Regions from separate parts of the Homo sapiens genome. Here region 1 is linked to region 2. Evidence: promoter capture Hi-C in 16 types of primary human blood cells and fetal thymus (Javierre and others, 2016). All regions are on one chromosome and are shown on one strand. The core of a region is centred on a gene start or on the middle of the fragment in contact, and the rest is flanking DNA. Distances in the headings are between cores, read along the strand shown. Region 1 has its middle 66 kb from the start of SNX9. Region 2 holds the start of SYNJ2 (synaptojanin 2).

Evidence for each region. The method cuts DNA at HindIII sites, captures the fragments that hold promoters and counts their contacts. A CHiCAGO score of 5 or more calls a contact.
Region 1: a contact is called between a fragment that was not itself captured here and the fragment with the promoter of SYNJ2 in region 2, in 4 of 17 cell types (endothelial precursors, activated CD4 T cells, fetal thymus and 1 more). The highest score is 6.7, in endothelial precursors.

The regions. Positions count from the first base shown.
Region 1 is chr6:157,754,850-157,759,867 of GRCh38, forward strand. No RefSeq gene overlaps it. Among named protein-coding and RNA genes, the nearest start is that of SNX9, 66 kb to the right of the region's middle. RefSeq lists a silencer at 468-762. The HindIII fragment of the contact is 2,142 bases long and covers 762-2,903 here.
Region 2 is chr6:157,979,445-157,984,684 of GRCh38, forward strand. It overlaps SYNJ2 (synaptojanin 2), which reads left to right and starts at 2,419. Exons shown (of 27, transcript NM_003898.4): 1 at 2,419-2,644. The coding sequence starts at 2,518. RefSeq lists enhancers at 1,655-1,704, 1,669-2,184, 1,725-1,914, 1,935-1,984, 2,185-2,700 and a silencer at 2,105-2,684. The HindIII fragment of the contact is 11,440 bases long and covers 1,000-5,240 here.

The DNA.
Region 1 (5,018 bases), core at 583-3,082, 230 kb before region 2:
TGAAAGCAAGTGTATTAAGAAAGTAAAGGAATAAAGAATGGCTACTCCATAGACAGAGCAGCCCCGAGGGCTGCTGGTTGCCCATTTTTATGGTTGTTTCTTGATGATATGCTAAACAAGGGGTGAATCTCATGTCTCCCCTTTTTAGACCATGCAGGGTAACTTCCTGACATTGCCATGGCACTTGTAAACTGTCATGGTGCAGGTGGGAGTGTAGCAGTGAGGACGACCAGAGGTCACTCTCGTGGCCATCTTGGTCTTGGTGAGATAGGGCCGGCTTCTTTACTGCAACCTGCTTTATCAGCAAGGTCTTTATGACCTGCATCTTGTGCTGACCTCTTATCTCATCTTGTGACTTAGAATGCCTTAACAGTCTGGGAATGCAGCCCAGTAGGTCTCCGCCTCATTTTACCCAGCTCTGTATTCAAGATGGAGTTGCTCTGGTTCGCATGCCTCTGACACCGGGAGAAATTCTCCCTCTCAGCCATCTCTTTCCTAGTGGCCTCTCTCAGCATCATATGTTAGTCACTCCTCCCTTCCTGGTAGGGAAGAGAATGCCTCCGGGTTAGAAAAACACCAGCTGAGAGTTTATAGACATTTCTCTTTGAACATGTGGAACAACAAAGACTACTGATAGACTGTTGGGCATAATTTTAGAATTTGCCTTATTTTGTCAAAGATTAAAGAAAGAAAAGGCCACTTTCCCACTATTCGATTTAACTCAGTCGGATTATACGGTGACAATGTCACTCACTGATTTAAGCTTGAATGTGAGAGATTTAAAAGCAATGGCTTGAAAGGAGTTGTTTTGCATCTTAAAAGAAACCACGACTTCAGAGTGATTTTGATTTTCCATTCCTACAAAGGAAGAAACGAAGCTAAATGCTTTTAATCCTAAAAGTGCCCTTTCAGAATTTCTGGGATCACGGTTGCAAGGCAGAAGTGGAGAACTACCCATTGGATGCCTCTCCAGGAGTCACATCTGTCTCCTCAGACTTTGATCTTCTCAGACATTGCTGGAGAGGCAGGGACAGAAAGTTCAGATGCTACGGAAAGACAGTGTGGGTCAGACCACACAGTGTTCCTTTGAAACTCCTGGCTTACTGGCTTTCCCCCACCCACCCATCAAGTGTGTCCTTTGAGGTGAGACATAACATCAGCTGACTAACAAGATGTTTGCCAGTAATCACATCTGATGACAGTAAATGTCAGTCTCCCAACACAATTTCTATTTTATTTCATTAATACCATCCTCAGTGGTTTGCTTGAAAGGGTTAAATTAGCTAGGCATGGTGGCTCATGCCTGTAATCCCTACACTTTGGGAGGCTGAGGTAAGCAGATCACTTGAGGTCAGGAGTTCAAGACCAGCCTGGGCAACATGGTGAAACCCTGTCTCTACAAAAAATACAAAAATTGGCTGGGCGTGGTGGCAAGTGCCTGTAGACCCAAGTACTTGGGGGGCTGAGGCAGGAGGATTGCTTGAACCCAGGAGGTGGAGGTTGCAGTGAGCTGTGATTGTTCCTCTGCACTCTGCACTCTAGCTGGGCAACAGAGTGAGACTCTGTCTAAAAAAAAAAAAAGAGTTAAATTGGAAAATGTATGTCTTGGTGCTCTGTAAATTGCGAAGCTCTACATAAGTATGATTCCCTGTCTTTATAAATTTGCAATCTGGTGTGCCATGTCTGGGGACAATAACTCCTTCATTGCTCCAGGCACAGAGTTCTGGATTGAGGTCCTGGCTTCTGCTTCTCCAAGATTATCCAAATTTCTTGCTCCTTGAAGGTGGACTTTGAGGACCAGCATCACTTGTGTACCCCATAGCTTCTAATGCAGCAAGCAGGGAATAGACACTCCAGCAAGCAAGTGAATAAGCAAAGAAAACCAGGCCCCCGAGACGCAGGCGGATCCCCAGGCGGATCCCCAGAGGCAACAGAGTCAAATATGCGGGAAAGAATCTGATTCCGGCCAGCAGAGGGCAGGAGCGAGAGGAAACTGGGCATCTCAGCAACAAAGCAGGCTGTGCCAACCTGCGGCCGAGGGCCAGATCGCAAGCCCCGGTGCAGAGAGGACGCCGGGAGAATCCAGCTAATTCTGACAGCCTTTCCCTTGGACTTTAGCTGTAATGTGTGTGTGTTCCATTATCTCACACATCACTGCACTGAATTCCACTTCAACTTCCACCCCCTCCCCCCACCAGGAGCTGGCAGTTAAGATATTTACCAAGATGGTGCTGCCTCTCTAGTAAAACTCAGGAGGATTAAAATAATAATAAACAAACCGAGAGAGGGAGTCCAGAAAAGTGGACTAGGAAGCACAACACAGAAGCAGCTTCAGCACTGGAAAATATTCAGTCGTAAGAATCACCATGCATTCCCTCAGTGCTTGGCAGCCACTTTCTCACTTGAGCCCCATACTCTTTGTATGAGGTATGGGGTGGCTACTTGTGGAGTGCTGTGTCTAAGTCACCCTGCATGGGAGAGGCAGCACCAGGATTCTAACTCAGGATCCTGGGGCCTTATCCACGGCACTCTGTTACCGGGGACACGCTCATTCACTCAACAAACCTTCACGGACTGCCCATCAGTTCTTGTGCCAGGTATACAGAAGGGAAGGACACGGTCCTGTCCTCCAAGAGCTCATCCTCCAAAAGAGCATGGATACTAATAAACAGTCACAGTTTGGTATGACATGGCCATGACAGAGAAGAGTCACCCAACGCAAACTGGGAGGGCCAGTGAACATTTCCAGGAGGAAGTGACAGAAGTTGCCCTGCTGATGACCTCAGTGGCACCATTCATTTTATCACTATGTACCAGAAAATTGTCATAATCTACAGTGACCTCAGATGTGCACAGGGCACCCTCCACCTCTTTGCAATGCCCCTTGCACAGCCATACTGGGAAGCTTGCAGCTGAACCAAGCTTTGAAGGATGACTAGGAGCAGGCAATCAAAGAAAGGAATAGGGGCTAGGGCTGGCGTCGGGTGGAGGGATTCTGGGTGAAGGGGTTGGCACCAGCATAGGGGGTAGGCCTGAGAAATGTCCCCACAGCTGGAGCGTAGGTCTCAGGAGGAATGGTAACAAGAAGACTAAGAAGCAGATGGGGAGGCCAGGAGTTTGAGGAGCTTGGGCAACATAGCAGGACCTCGTCTCCACAAAAAGAAATTAAAAATTAGCCGGCCATGGTGGTGCATGCCTGTAGTCCCACTTACTCAGGAGGCTGAGGCAGGAGGATCACTTGAGCCCAGGAGTTCAAAGTTACAGTGAGGTGTGATCTCACTGCTGCACTCCAGCCTCCAAGGTCTTCAGAGCAAGACCCTATCAAAAAAGAAAAGAAAAGAAAGAAGAAAGGAAGGAAGGAAAGAAGGAAAGAGAAAGAGAGAAAGAAAGAAAGAAAAAAGAGAGGAAGGAAGGAAAAAGAAAAGAAAGAAAAAAGAAGCAGATGAGGCCAGGTCACCTAAAAGGCCTTTTCTACCATGCCAAGGAGGCTAGATGTTACATGGAATGCTATGAGGGTCTTTGGGAGAATATTATACAGGGAAATGGCAATATCATAAATGTGATTTCAGAAATATCATTACTCTAGCAGCATGGAGAATGGATTCGAGAGCGGCAAGTCTGGGGATAGGAGAGCAGTGAGGAGCTTCCCGATGATCCCAGAGCAAAATGACAAGGGCCTGGGGAAAAGACACTCTTGGTGGGGGCAGAGGAAGGGGAGGCTTCCGGAGTTGGGCAGGAAGAAGAACAGATCAAATCTACCAACTAAACAATGGTAAGTGGGAGAGGTCAGGGGTAAGGATGACTGAAGGCTCTGGCTGGGGTCACTGGGCACATGGTGACACCATGTCCCCTGGATAAGCCCCATGAGGGTGGGACTGTGGCTGAGTCACAGCTGTATGGTCAGCACGTGTAGTGACTAGCAGGTAATGGGTGTCTGAGAAGTATTTATGGGGTGAACGCTAGCATGGATGCCTGCGTGAGCAAGACAGGTAGGGATGATGGAACCTGTTGAGTAGGAGACGCCTGAGAGATGGTCACAGGAAGCTGTGCAGCAGGAAGTTGCACAGATGAGACCTGAGTTCAACAGGGAGACCTGAACTGAAGGCAGGGATCTGGGAAGCAGCGGCATTCACGTTCCCAGTGAGGACAGTGGAAGAAGACCTCAGGTCCTGAAAAACACCAACAGCTGAAGGGCCAGCAGAGGAACCTGTGCCCTCAGAGAAGGTTTAAAATCATAGCAAGGAACAATGATGGTGTTGAGAGTTTCAAAAGACAGGAGTCTCTGGGAGGCCAAGTAGAATAAGGAGTGAAATTTACCTATTGAATTTGGCAACCTGGACGTCAGAAGTCACACGGCCCTGGCTGGTAGGAATTCTGAGTCATGCAGGCTGCGGGCAGGGGACCATGACATCTAGCTGAAGCCATGCAAAGATGGGGCCTGAGAGCCAAACCAGGCTGTGACATGCTAGAGCTGGCCCTGATGGGCCCAGGAGCACTCATGGTTAAATTTTCAGGAAATTTGCAAGCTGGTTGTTAAACACAGCCATTATTAAAAATTAAATGGGTCAGGCGCAGTGGTTTATGCCTGTAATCCCAACACTTTGGGAGGCTGAGGCTGGTGGATCACTTGAGGTCAGGAGTTTGAGGTCAGCATGGCCAATATGGTGAAACCCTGTCTCTAGTAAAAATACAAAAATTAGCTGGGCATGGTGGCGGGCGCCTGTAGTCCCAGCTACTCAAGAGGCTGAGGTGTGAGCTTTGAGTCCAGGTGGTTGAGGCTGAAGTGAGCCATGATCATGCCACTGCACTCTAGCCTGGGCAACAGAGGGAGACCCTGTCTCCAAATAAATATAGAAATAAATAAGAAAAATAAATAAAAGTTTAATGATATAAACTTACAAATTGAATAGATTATACTAAAAACAAAAGTAATAAACACTTAAAGCTCATCACTTCCTAGTGATCTACACTTTACTATTACCTATGCCATCAAAGTTTGTTTTTTTTGTTTGTTTGTT
Region 2 (5,240 bases), core at 1,169-3,668:
CTTCAACATATGGATTTGGTAGGGCAACAGGGGGTGGGGATAGGGTGGCTCAAACGTTCAGTGCATGTCTCCCCTACTTCCCCTCTTTGTTTCCTCTGATAACCTGTTGGGGTTCCTGACTCCCTCACCCACACCACGCTGAGCTACATTTCCTGCTGTGGCTTACTCTGGGGCTGGTGGAGTTGGCTTTTGCTTCCTTCCCCATCTCCTCCCCTTCCCAATTCCCTACCCTCCAGGCATTATACATCTCAGAGAGGGGAAGCGCCCAACTCTCCTGCCGCAGATGGGCCCACCCCTTTGCCCAAACGCCGCTGGGGGTTTAGGTGTCTGAGCCAACCTTTTCCTTGAAGGCCTCAAGGTCAGTTGCTCCATCTGCGAAAGGTGCCTGTGCCTGGGTACCCTTGGTCTATCAAGCCAGTGCGCATGTGAGGAAGCTGCTCCCTCTGCCACCCAGGTGGGCTGTCCCACCTGAAACCAGACAGCAGAGGCCCCAAAACCCAGCAGGCTCTTGGCTCACCCAGCCATTTCTCAGAGACGGAGGAACAGCCACTGTAGTTCCTTGAGTCTGAGACGTGCATTTTAACATTGTCTAAATCAGGGCAGAGATGACTATTGGTGGCATGTTCTAGTTTAATTGGAAGTTTTTTTTTTTTTCTCAGTGGTACATAAAATAGTGGTTCATTTTACAGTTGATGGTGACTTGGATTCTATAAGCTGTGAGGCTCAACTGCTGGTCCTGACTGCAGGAAAATTTCTAAAATAGGTATGGCATGCCACTGTGCAGGACTTTAGACTATATGATGCTAGTTAGGAAAGAGGAGAGAGAGATAAATGGAAGACTGGGTCCCCTCCCTAAGGCCTTACCACTCAATTTGCAAAACAGGGCTAAGAGAAAACATAAAAACACTTCTCAAGCAACATATGAGTAGGTGAGAACTGAAGTCTGTAAATCTGGGTGTTATATAAGCACTATTATCTGGGACCTCAGCATTCCAGGAAAGCTTCCTGGAAGAAGTGAGTTTCAGGTCAAAAAGTGGGCCAAAGGCTGATCTGCCTCACTGAATGGGCACACTGTTTTCATGAGGTAGTAATGTTTCCATCTACACAGAAAGAAGCTGCTCGGACAGCTGATGAGCATCATGCCTGGGATATTGAGCACATCATGCTTGACCTGGGCAGAGTTTGTGGGCAAGGAAAGGGGCTAAGGGTCAAGATAATCTCTGCTGGGGTTGTTCAAATTTATTACCCAACCATCACCTGAGAGGTTGTCCCCTGAGGATGGCTTGTCTGGTCATTACTGAATGTCTGCAGGGGCATGGCAGTGTTCTGCTTGGCTCTGGGGGCTCTGCCCTTTCTAGGACAAGTCCCAGAGACAAACAGCTTGGCCCAGTACAGCAGAATGGGGTGAGAGAGGAACTGAGTTCGTTTGCGGGCAGGATGGAAACAGCTGATGGAGGCTTCTCGGGCCATCCTCACGTACCCATCACAAGCGAAGGGAATTAAGCCGCCAAACCACCCCAAAGAGTGACTCCAACTCAGCCCTAAACACCCATACCCACCCCACCTCCCCTGCAGCTCTGACAGGCCAAGCCTGGGCGCTAGAACCCCGCGCCAGAAGGCCGGGCCACACACTCCAGCGTACACGCGCGGACACGTGCCGGTGTCCAGAGCCGGTGGGAGAGGCGCTGTCACCATCTGACAGGAGAGGAAGGTGGAGCGCAGAGAAGTCAGGGTCACGTGGTAAGTGGGGGTCGTGGTCTGGGGATCACGGCTCCAGGTCTCTTCGCGACAACGCACCGTTGACCCCCAACACCTCTCCCTGGCGGGGTCGGTGACCGCAACAGCCTCCGGGATAGAACGCTAGTGAAAGGTAACCTTTCTCCAGCCCGCTCCACGCGCTCCGCACCCGCTAAGCGCCTCCGCGAATTAACTCAGGCCTCCGCGCCGAAGTAGGCGCAGTTATGACCCCGCTTCCCCGCAGGGAGACCGAGGCACGCAGGGTCGAAAGGACTCGTCCAGGGTCGCAGGAGCCGACCACACAGGGAGGCGCAGCGCCCCCGGCGGGAACAGTCAGCGGGTCCAGCCTGGCGGACTCCCGGGCCGGGCTGCCCATATAAGGCTGCGGGCGGCCGGCATCGCAGCCAGGCTCCCGGGGTCGCCCCGCGCGGGGCATCCTCCTCCGCAGCGAGGAATGCGTGGCATCCGGGAGGCTCTTCCGCTCCACGCCCGCCTGCGGGGAGCCTCAGCCCCGGGGCGCGGCCTCGCGCAGCTGCCTGGCCGCTGGGGGGAGCGCGGGGCCGGGCGGGAGGCGGCGGCGCGCCCTCACCTGCCCCAGGCTGGGGAGGCGCGAGTGGGGAGGAGGAGGAAGGGGAGGAGGCCGGGGAGGAGCCTGGCGCGGCGGGAGCGGCGGCGCAAAGTGAAACTCTGGCAAGTTGCGGGCGCGCGGGGAGCTGTCGCGGGCAGCGCGCCCTCGGGAGGACGTGGCCCCGGCCCCCGCCCGCAGTGGGCCCGACCCTCATGGCCCTGAGCAAAGGGCTGCGGCTGCTGGGGCGCCTGGGGGCCGAGGGGGACTGTAGCGTGCTGCTGGAGGCGCGCGGCCGCGACGACTGCCTGCTGTTCGAGGCCGGCACGGTGGCCACGCTGGGTGAGTCCGGGCCGGGGGCAGCGACGCCCGGAGGAGAGGGCGCCCGCATTCGCCCAGCCTCGGGAAGACGGGTACCCCCCCTTCCCGAGGGGATCGGGCGGCGCTGGGACTGCCGGGGCGTAGGGGTCGCGCGCAGAGGGGTGGCTGTTTGAATGAAGTGGGGCTGGGGACTCGAGAGAGCACTCTGGCTGGGCCGGTGGCGCACGGAGGCCGGCCGCCCCTCCACGGGGATCTCCGGCCCGCGCCGCCAGAGGATATGGTTGCTGGATAGCCGGCTGGGGCGCTTTGCGTATTCATGAGGATCCCGGGGTGTTGACTTAGCCGGCCTGACCCTGTGCCTGGCGCCTTTTCTTTTGCACCTGTTGATGAAACCAGTGATTGCCCTTTGGTTTGTGTTGGCGGCTCCACTCCTGGAGGGGATGGGGACAAAAGCCCCAAAACATAGGCTCTGGAGAAACCGCTGATGGCAGCTTTGTCCCACGTAAATACTTGGTCGAGAAGCATCGGTGCTGCAATTTATAGAACTTGTAAACAAATATACCATGACCTTTATGCTGTCTTAGATCCTGCCAAGCCAGCGAATTTCACCTATGGACTTCAGAAGCCTTGAAACTGGCATTGTGCTATGGGCTTTAGTACGTGATCTCACTTAATTCTCACAATTCTACTAAAAAGCTATTATTATCCCCATTTTGCAGATGAGCAAACTGAGGCCTAAAGAGGCTAAGTTGCTTGCCAAGGTGACACCATCCACCTGACTTTTATGTGGCTGTTTCTGTAATGTCATTCAATGCGTGGCTTCCTGGTATCGCTAACCTGGGTCCCTTGTTTTGTGCTAACCATTATAAGGAAAACCTGGGTAGCACCAAAGCACGTGAAACCAGGTCTGATTGTTAGACTTCTAAATGTGGACACCCGAGAGTAAGCTCCCACCACTAGGCGTCCAGCTGTAACAGCTTGCCGGTATTCCTAGCTAAACAAGGTGCAGCCCGGGGTCACTCGTACTTGAGGTGGTCGGCAAATGCAGCAGGCTGCTTTGTAGATGCCTCTAGCCTTCTTTTCACATTTGTATGCATCGACTCCCGTTCGGATGTATGTCTTGGAAGGACTATCTCTCCTATTTCTGATTCCCTAATCATTTCATTAACATGCATTTATCCAGCTTGTTCTCAGTCACTTGATTACTGAAACAATGTCTCCAGTAGTCTCAGCATCAAAAGTAGGCAGTGAATTGTAGATTAAGTTATTTTCAGATTATTCTAATTTGTGCTGTCCTGAAGAGTCTAAGTTTGGTTATTTGGTGTGGCCTTGAAAGAAAACCACAGAAATTTCCATTCCATTTTAGATGTCTACTTCATACCACATTTATCGGAAGCGAAAGAGTAATTTCATGGTACAAAACTACTGTTTCATCAAATAGATTAAGATGTCCTTCAGTTGGATTACGGCAACATTAAGCCAAGTTCATACACATTCAAGAATTCTTTGAAGCAGCTTAGAAAAAAGAGATTTTATTTTTTCAAAAGTGAAGATTTAAAAATGATTAATGACAGTAATGTAGTGCATATTTTCCATTAGGAGCTGAAGTTTGGGCTGAGATTTACATCACGGTGGTGATTACAGTATACCAGATTTTAGAACAGAGAATGTAAGAAAGGAATTGGCTCGTCTTCAACTCATGTGCAGTCCACATTTGTCATTTAACCTAGCATTCATTTTTCAGTAGAAAACTTTAAAAAAAAATTTTTTTTTTTTTTGAAACAGAGGCTTCTTCTGTTGCCTAGGCTGGCATGCAGTGGCACAGTCACAGCCCACTGCAGCCTCAACTTCCCAGGCTCAAGCGATCCTCCTGCCTCAGCCTCCTGAGTAGCTGGGACTATAGGCACATGCCACCATGCCTGGCTAATTTTTTCTCTTTCTTTTCTTTTCTTTAAATGGGGTCTTACTATGTTGCCCATGCTGTTCTCGAACTCCTGGGCTCAGGTGATCTTTCCGCCTTGGTCTCCCAAAGCGTTGGGATTACAGGCATGAACTACTTACTGCGTCTGGCCTGAAAACTTAATTTTTTAAAGTCTGTTTTGTTTAAGTAAAATGAAACTATTTTTAAAAAGCAGCTGTAGCATTTGGTGGCTTTGCTGGTCCAGAGAATGTTTGTAGGAGAGAGCCTTATGTTACTAGAAAGTTGTTTAAAACTTTCAACATATCCTAAATGCATCACTATTGGATAAAATGGCTCTGAACTTGAAATTCCCATCTGTGTTCCAAAGGGCTAGCTAGCTGTTTTACTTTCCTTTCTTGGAGAAAGTGATTATTTTTTTTCTTTTTTTTGAGATGGAGCTTCACTCTTGTTGCCTGGGCTGAGTGAAGTGGTGCGATCTCGGCTGACTGCAACACCGCCACCCCCACCTGGGTTCAAGTGATTCTCCTGCCTCAGCCTCCCCAGTAGCTAGGATTACAGGCACACGCCACCATGCCTGGCTAATTTTTGTATTTTTAGTAGAGACGGGGTTGTGCCATTTTGGCCAGGCTGGTTTCTAACTCCTGACCTTAGGTGATCCACCTGCTTTGGCCTCCCAAAGTGCTAGGATTACAGGCG